Regions from separate parts of the Homo sapiens genome. Here region 1 is linked to region 2. The links are contacts of gene promoters, found by promoter capture Hi-C in human tissues and cell types (Jung and others, 2019). All regions are on one chromosome and are shown on one strand. The core of a region is centred on a gene start or on the middle of the fragment in contact, and the rest is flanking DNA. Distances in the headings are between cores, read along the strand shown.

The links. The method cuts DNA at HindIII sites, captures the fragments that hold promoters and counts their contacts. A contact is called where the count stands out against the background at its distance.
Region 1: a fragment that was not itself captured here is called in contact with the fragment with the promoter of NOP56 in region 2 in 1 of the 25 tissues and cell types used here (IMR-90 fibroblasts).

The regions. Positions count from the first base shown.
Region 1 is chr20:3,018,371-3,021,695 of GRCh38, reverse strand. PTPRA (protein tyrosine phosphatase receptor type A) reads right to left here. Exons shown (of 24, transcript NM_001385305.1): 14 at 268-387. Among named protein-coding and RNA genes, the nearest start is that of GNRH2, 24 kb to the left of the region's middle. The HindIII fragment of the contact is 8,052 bases long and covers 1-3,325 here.
Region 2 is chr20:2,650,909-2,654,065 of GRCh38, reverse strand. NOP56 (NOP56 ribonucleoprotein) reads right to left here and starts at 1,434. Exons shown (of 12, transcript NM_006392.4): 1 at 1,403-1,434; 2 at 1,135-1,224; 3 at 673-787. The coding sequence starts at 1,405. It overlaps MIR1292 (microRNA 1292), which reads right to left and starts at 1,289; the gene lies at 1,224-1,289. It overlaps LOC105372505 (a long non-coding RNA gene), which reads left to right and starts at 1,602. Exons shown (of 5, transcript XR_007067502.1): 1 at 1,602-1,706. RefSeq lists an enhancer at 721-810 and a silencer at 1,311-1,950. The HindIII fragment of the contact is 12,812 bases long and covers 1-3,157 here.

The sequences.
Region 1 (3,325 bases), core at 416-2,915, 370 kb before region 2:
GCACTGCCTCCCCATGCTCCCTTTCCACAGTGCTTGGTCATATCTAAATGATCAGACTTCATCTCAACAGGTAATTTTTCACCAGTCATGAAAATACTGCTCCTTTAGCTTTGACAGACAAGTTCCCCTGAGCCCGGATATCTGGTTTCAGAATTCACATACTGCATACTCAGCAACTCCTGACCACAGCGGGATGATCCAGCCTGTTCCCTCTTACTGGTCAGCAGATCCAACATAAGAACTGAGAAAGGACAGAGGAGACACTACCTGCTGGATGCAGAACTTCCGTACTGTGTAGTCCACCAGGACAGTCACATCCTCTACAGACACCCGAATATTCCCATAGGTCCAGCAGCCTTGGTCTGGCCAGTACTGGGCGCACTTGCACTGGAAAGAAAAAGACATACATTCCCTGACCTTAGACCTCCTGCCCATGGCAGATGCAAAGGGCCTGGAAGGAAGAGCCCACAAAGCCCAGATTAAAGTCCCCCAGAAGGCCCTTTGACCTCTTCTCTATCTCAGTCAGTTGCACACTTACTTATTCAAATTTGCCCTTTTCTCAAGTTCCTTAGCCGCCATCCTATTGAGCACAGTCTCCTAACTTACACACAGCCCTAGCCCCATACTTCTCAATGTTTCCCACCCACACTCCCTTGGTTCAGGGCGAATCTGAAGCCATCTTACCTACAAAATCTGCACTTTCACAACATTTCAGGTCATGCTCTAGGAGAAAGCCTGTTTGAACCCCTCGAACCAGCAGTCTGCTATGAGGGGGCCACCAGGGTAGACTGATGCAGACTGTAAACCTGCCATGAGAGGCCTAGAGCTTTTTCTGTTGCCTGAGCTTTGGATAGCTTCCAAGAGCAAGAGGTTTGGTTGGAGGAAACTAACCTAAAGCCCAGCCCTAGCACTGTCTTCCCATGCCACTGTGGAGCTGTTGATCATGACACCCGATACCCTAGGATCAAGGTGACTCAAGGGCCATCCTTGAGAAACACGGTAACAAATAGGTATTCCTCGCTGGGGCTCGACCCCAGGACCCAGAATTGGCTCTGGCTGTGGCCCAGTGATAGAGCTGGTTAGGCCAGGCATGCACTTGGTAGCCACAAAAGGAAAAGGCCCAGTTAGGAGGCTGCCTCCAGGATTAGGCCAAGGCCTCAAATTCCCTTTGGCTTGCAGGGTCTCAGTTCATAAAGCTCCCTCTGCTGATCCAGGATATACCAAAGGCCTCAGCAGGTGGGGCAGAAAACCAGGGAAATAAGGAACTAGAGAAACCAGGGGAAAAAAGCTCCTCTGTGGGCCGGGCGTGGTGGCTCACGCCTATAATCCCAGCACTTTGGGAGGCCGAGGTGGGTGGATCACGAGGTCAGGAGATCGAGACCATCCTGCCTAACACAGTGAAACCCCGTCTCTACTAAAAAAAACACAAAAAATTAGCTGGGCGTGGTGGCGGGTGGTACTCGGGAGGCTGAGGCAGAAGAATGGTGTGAACCCGGGAGGCGGAGCTTGCAGTGAGCCGAGATGGCACCACTGCCCTTCAGCCTGGGCGACAGAGCGAGACTCCGTCTCAAAAAACAAAACAAAACAGCTCTCCCTCTCCCTCTCCCCACGGTCTCCCTCTCCCTCTCTTTCCACGGTCTCCCTCCGATGCCGAGCCGAAGCTGGACGGTACTGCTGCCATCTCGGCTCACTGCAACCTCCCTGCCTGATTCTCCTGCCTCAGCCTGCCGAGTGCCTGCGATTGCAGGCGCGCGCCGCCACGCCTGACTGGTTTTCGTATTTTTTTGGTGGAGACGGGGTTTCGCTGTGTTGGCCGGGCTGGTCTCCAGCTCCTAACCGCAAGTGATCTGCCAGCCTCGGCCTCCCGAGGTGCCGGGATTGCAGACGGAGTCTCGTTCACTCAGTGCTCAATGGTGCCCAGGCTGGAGTGCAGTGGCGTGATCTTGGCTCGCTACAACCTCCACCTCCCAGCAGCCTGCTTTGGCCTCCCAAAGCGCCGAGATTGCAGCCTCTGCCCAGCCGCCACCCCGTCTGGGAAGTGAGGAGCGTCTCTGCCCGGCCGCCCATCGTCTGGGATGTGAGGAGCCCCTCTGCCTGGCTGCCCAGTCTGGAAAGTGAGGAGAGTCTCTGCCCGGCCGCCATCCCATCTAGGAAGTGAGGAGCGTCTCTGCCCGGCCGCCCATCGTCTGAGATGTGGGGAGCACCTCTGCCCTGCCGCCCCGTCCGGGATGTGAGGAGCATCTCTGCCTGGCCGCCCCGTCTGAGAAGTGAGGAGACCCTCTGCCTGGCAACCGCCCCGTCTGAGAAGTGAGGAGCCCCTCCGCCCAGCAGCCGCCCGGTCTGAGAAGTGAGGAGCCCCTCCGCCCAGCAGCCACCCCGTCTGGGAAGTGAGGAGCGTCTCTGCCCGGCAGCCACCTCGTCCGGGAGGGAGGTGGGGGGGTCAGCCCCCCGCCCGGCCAGCCGCCCCGTCCGGGAGGGAGGTGGGGGGGTCAGCCCCACGCCCGGCCGGCCGCCCCGTCCGGGAGGGAGGTTGGGGGATCAGCCCCCCGCCCGGCCAGCCGCCCCGTCCAGGAGGTGAGGGGCGCCTCTGCCCGGCCGCCCCTACTGGGAAGTGAGGAGCCCCTCTGCCCGGCCAGCCGCCCCGTCCGGGAGGTGGGGGGGTCAGCCCCCCCGCCCGGCCAGCTGCCCTGTCCGGGAGGGAGGTTGGGGGATCAGCCCCCTGCCCGGCCAGCCGCCCCGTCCGGGAGGTGAGGGGCGCCTCTGCCCGGCCGCCCCTACTGGGAAGTGAGGAGCCCCTCTGCCCGGCCAGCCACCCCGTCCGGGAGGGAGGTGGGGGGATCAGCCCCCCGCCCGGCCAGCCGCCCTGTCCGGGAGGTGAGGGGCGCCTCTGCCCGGCCGCCCCTACTGGGAAGTGAGGAGCCCCTCTGCCCGGCCACCACCCCGTCTGGGAGGTGTGCCCAGCAGCTCATTGAGAACGGGCCATGATGACAATGGCGGTTTTGTGGAATAGAAAGGGGGGAAAGGTGGGGAAAAGATTGAGAAATCGGATGGTTGCCGTGTCTGTGTGGAAAGAAGTAGACATGGGAGACTTTTCATTTTGTTCTATACTAAGAAAAAATCTTCTGCCTTGGGATCCTGTAGATCTGTGACCTTACCCCCAACCCTGTGCTCTCTGAAACATGTGCTGTATCCACTCAGGGTTGAATGGATTAAGGGCGGTGCAAGATGTGCTTTGTTAAACAGATGCTTGAAGGCAGCAGGCTCGTTAAGAGTCATCACCACTCCCTAATCTCAAGTACCCAGGGACACAAACACTGCAGAAGGC
Region 2 (3,157 bases), core at 185-2,684:
TGCCCTTTCCAATCGAACAGAAAGCAGAGAACCAGACACTTGATTGTGTTTAGGCAAAACCTCAGGCACAAGTAGGTGTTAAGCCGACCCCCTTTAAGAAACCCCCCTTTGTCGGCCGGGCACCGTCGCTCGCGCCTGCAACCTCAGCACCTTGGGAGGTCGAGGCGGGCGGATCACGAGGTCAGGAGATGGAGACTAGCCTGGCCAACATGGTGAAACCCCGTCTCTACCAAAAATACAAAATTAGCCGGGTGTGGTGGCTGGCACAGGCCTGTAATCCCAGTTACTCGGGAGGCTGAGGCAGGAGAATCGCCTGAACCAGGGAGGCAGAGGTTGCAGTGAGCCCAGATCTTGCCACTGCACTCCAGCCTGGGGGACAGACTCCATCTCAAAAAAAATAAAAATAAAAAATAGTTTGTCACTACAGTGCCCACAAGGAAACGTTAACACACATTCCACATCGTCTGCTTAAACAGTTTGGTCTAGCACAGTTCCCAGACCTTGAGCTCTGTGAAGACAATTATTTCAAATTACACATTGTATGGCTCAAATACTGCCTCACGCCTATCAGACTCAGAGCCAGCCAAGGACGGCAAATACTATCACAAGCTGCCCGAGAGGATACCGAAAGGAACCACATCTCTCTGTGACACTTGGCGGTGGCCGACTTACCTTCAGACACGGCGTTGGCATTTTCCAAGGCAACCTGGGATGAGGCAAAGGGACAAAAGGCCACCAGACGAACGATGCTGTGGAATTTGCCCAGGTTGAGCACAGACTCCTCCACCTGGGGGGAGAAAGAGGCTAAGTGGTTTCCTTCCCTCCCTCCTGCCTCTGCGGCGCAGTCAAGCAGCGGTTCTCAGCCTTGGAAGCTCTTAAAATATGCTGATACCTGGGCCCCACATCCCAGCTTCTGCTTTAATCGTTCGGGGGCGGCGTCCGGGAGGCTTATTTCTAATTGCTAGAGCGATTCTACCCATGGGTCAAGGTAAAGACCCCCGGATCTAGAGCTTTCCAGGCCCGTCCCCCCGCCCCGAACCGCTCGGCCGGCCACGTGGGAGCGCGCTGTGCATGCTGGGACCCGCGCGATGAGGGTCTGCGGGGCCGCCAAAGGAGCCCACGGATCTCACCCACCTGCGGCTGCAGCAGACTGATCTCCTCCACTTCCTTCAGCGCCAGCAGCGCGTAGCCGACCGCGTGCTCAAACAGCACGTGCAACAGCACCTGGAACGGGAGCCGGGGCGCGAGCGTCAACGCAACCTCAGCGTCTGCCGGAACCCGTTCCCAGGGCAGGCGCAGGCGCAGGCGCAGGCCCAGGCCCAGGCCCAGGCCCTGTCTGCGGCCCGAACGCAGGCCGAAACCCCCACCGTCGCGTCGCCCGCGCCCCGCAACCACTCCTCACCATGGCGCCAGCTCCCGGGTTCGGCTCGCAATGCGGCTAGCGCGCTCCGGCGCGCGGAACCAGGCTCCAGAGGCCACGCCCCCGCCCCCCCGACCAATCGGAGGCCGGGGACGACACCATCTCCGGCCTTTGGAGGGGCCGCCCAGGGTGGTATCGCCCGGAGCGCGGGCTGGGTGGTGCCGAGCGCGGGCGAGCGGGCCTTTTCCGGCCTCTGCAGCTGCGCGGGCGGGCGTGGTTGCCGGGGACGCGCGGCCCCCGGTCGGGCACTGCAGGCGGCGAAACGACTTGGGAAGGCCCTTTCGGGGTAATAGTCCGGTTCCTGATGTTCTTGTCATATGAGTTACGGGCAGCAGAGCTGGGTGAAGTCGGGGCGGGAGGTCCGCGTGGGGCGCGGCGTCCATCCCAGACAGAGACCGCTGCCTAGCCGGCTTCCCGCTTCGTCCGTGGCCTCGGGCCCCAGACCCTGCGCCCCACGTCCCCGGGACCCAGGCGTTCCCGTCCCCTACTCGGGGACGAGCCTCCCCGGCGCCGGGTGGGCGGTGCATCCTTTCCTCCCACCCGTAACGGGAGCGGTGCCTGGCGCGCTCTGGCGCAGACCCTGCTGGGAATGTAGCTCGCGCAGTTTTCTTCGTACTATTAATTTATTTCTTTTTTTTGTTTTTGGTTTTTTTTTTTTAAATGACTGTAGCAGGCAGTAACGTGCGAAAGAAAGACGCTCCAGCGTCTTCCTAGGCCAGTTTCTTGTTGCTGTGCTGCACGGGACCCAGCTCCTTTTGCTGGGCCACGTGTTGCTCCTCCGCTTGGGCGGCCCTGAATTCTGGGCGCTGGTGATCGCTGAGTGAATCGCAGCTGCTTCCCTGTCCTTGAGGGCGTCTTTTGGGCACTCAGGCGACTCTTTAGAAATGAGTTTTGCTTTAATAATTAATATTAACGTTATAAATCCAAAACCTAGTTATACTTAAGTAGCGTATCCCCTGGTATGTTTTAAAGAGTCATTCGAAGGGGATTTTTAAAAATAATGTATAGCTATAAACTGCATTTATACATTTAATTGTTATTTTGTTAAGCGATTGAGTTACTTGACAAAATCCAAGTACATAGTTCACTCACAAATCTAATATGTCAAACCTAAATGTGGTTGGTAAATCTTACTCTCATAATTTCAATATGGTTTACAGATGTGGTTGAATTCTGTTACACATGTCTACTTACGAGTCAGAATCGTTATTCCATTTAATATTTTAAAATGGAATTGCCAAGTTAATCCATACATTAGCATGTTAAATTATTTTAACCGTCGTGAATACATCAAAATAGACGATTCCAAAATGTAATGGAAAATACTAATGCTAATACTTCAATTTACTTCATTATTTCTGCCCTTAATCCTGAATCTTCCTGGAGTTACAGGTGCTTATCCACTAAACCAGGGGTTTTCAAGCAAGAAGTCAGAATGCATTAATGGACAGCATTTAAAAAAATAGGATTGGGTGGGCTATAATCCAGCACTTTAGGAGGCCGAGGCAGGCGGATCACTTAAGATCAGGAGTTCGAGACCAGCCTGGCCAACATGGTGAAACCCCGTCTCTACCAAAAAATAAAAAAATTAGCTGGACGTGGTGGAGCATGTCTGTAATCCCAGCTACTCGGGAGGCTGAGGAAGGAGAATCGCTTGAACCCGGGAGGCAGAGGCTGCACTCTAGCCTGGGCAACAGAGCAAGGCTCTGTCAAAAAAAAAAAAAAAAAAAAAAAAAA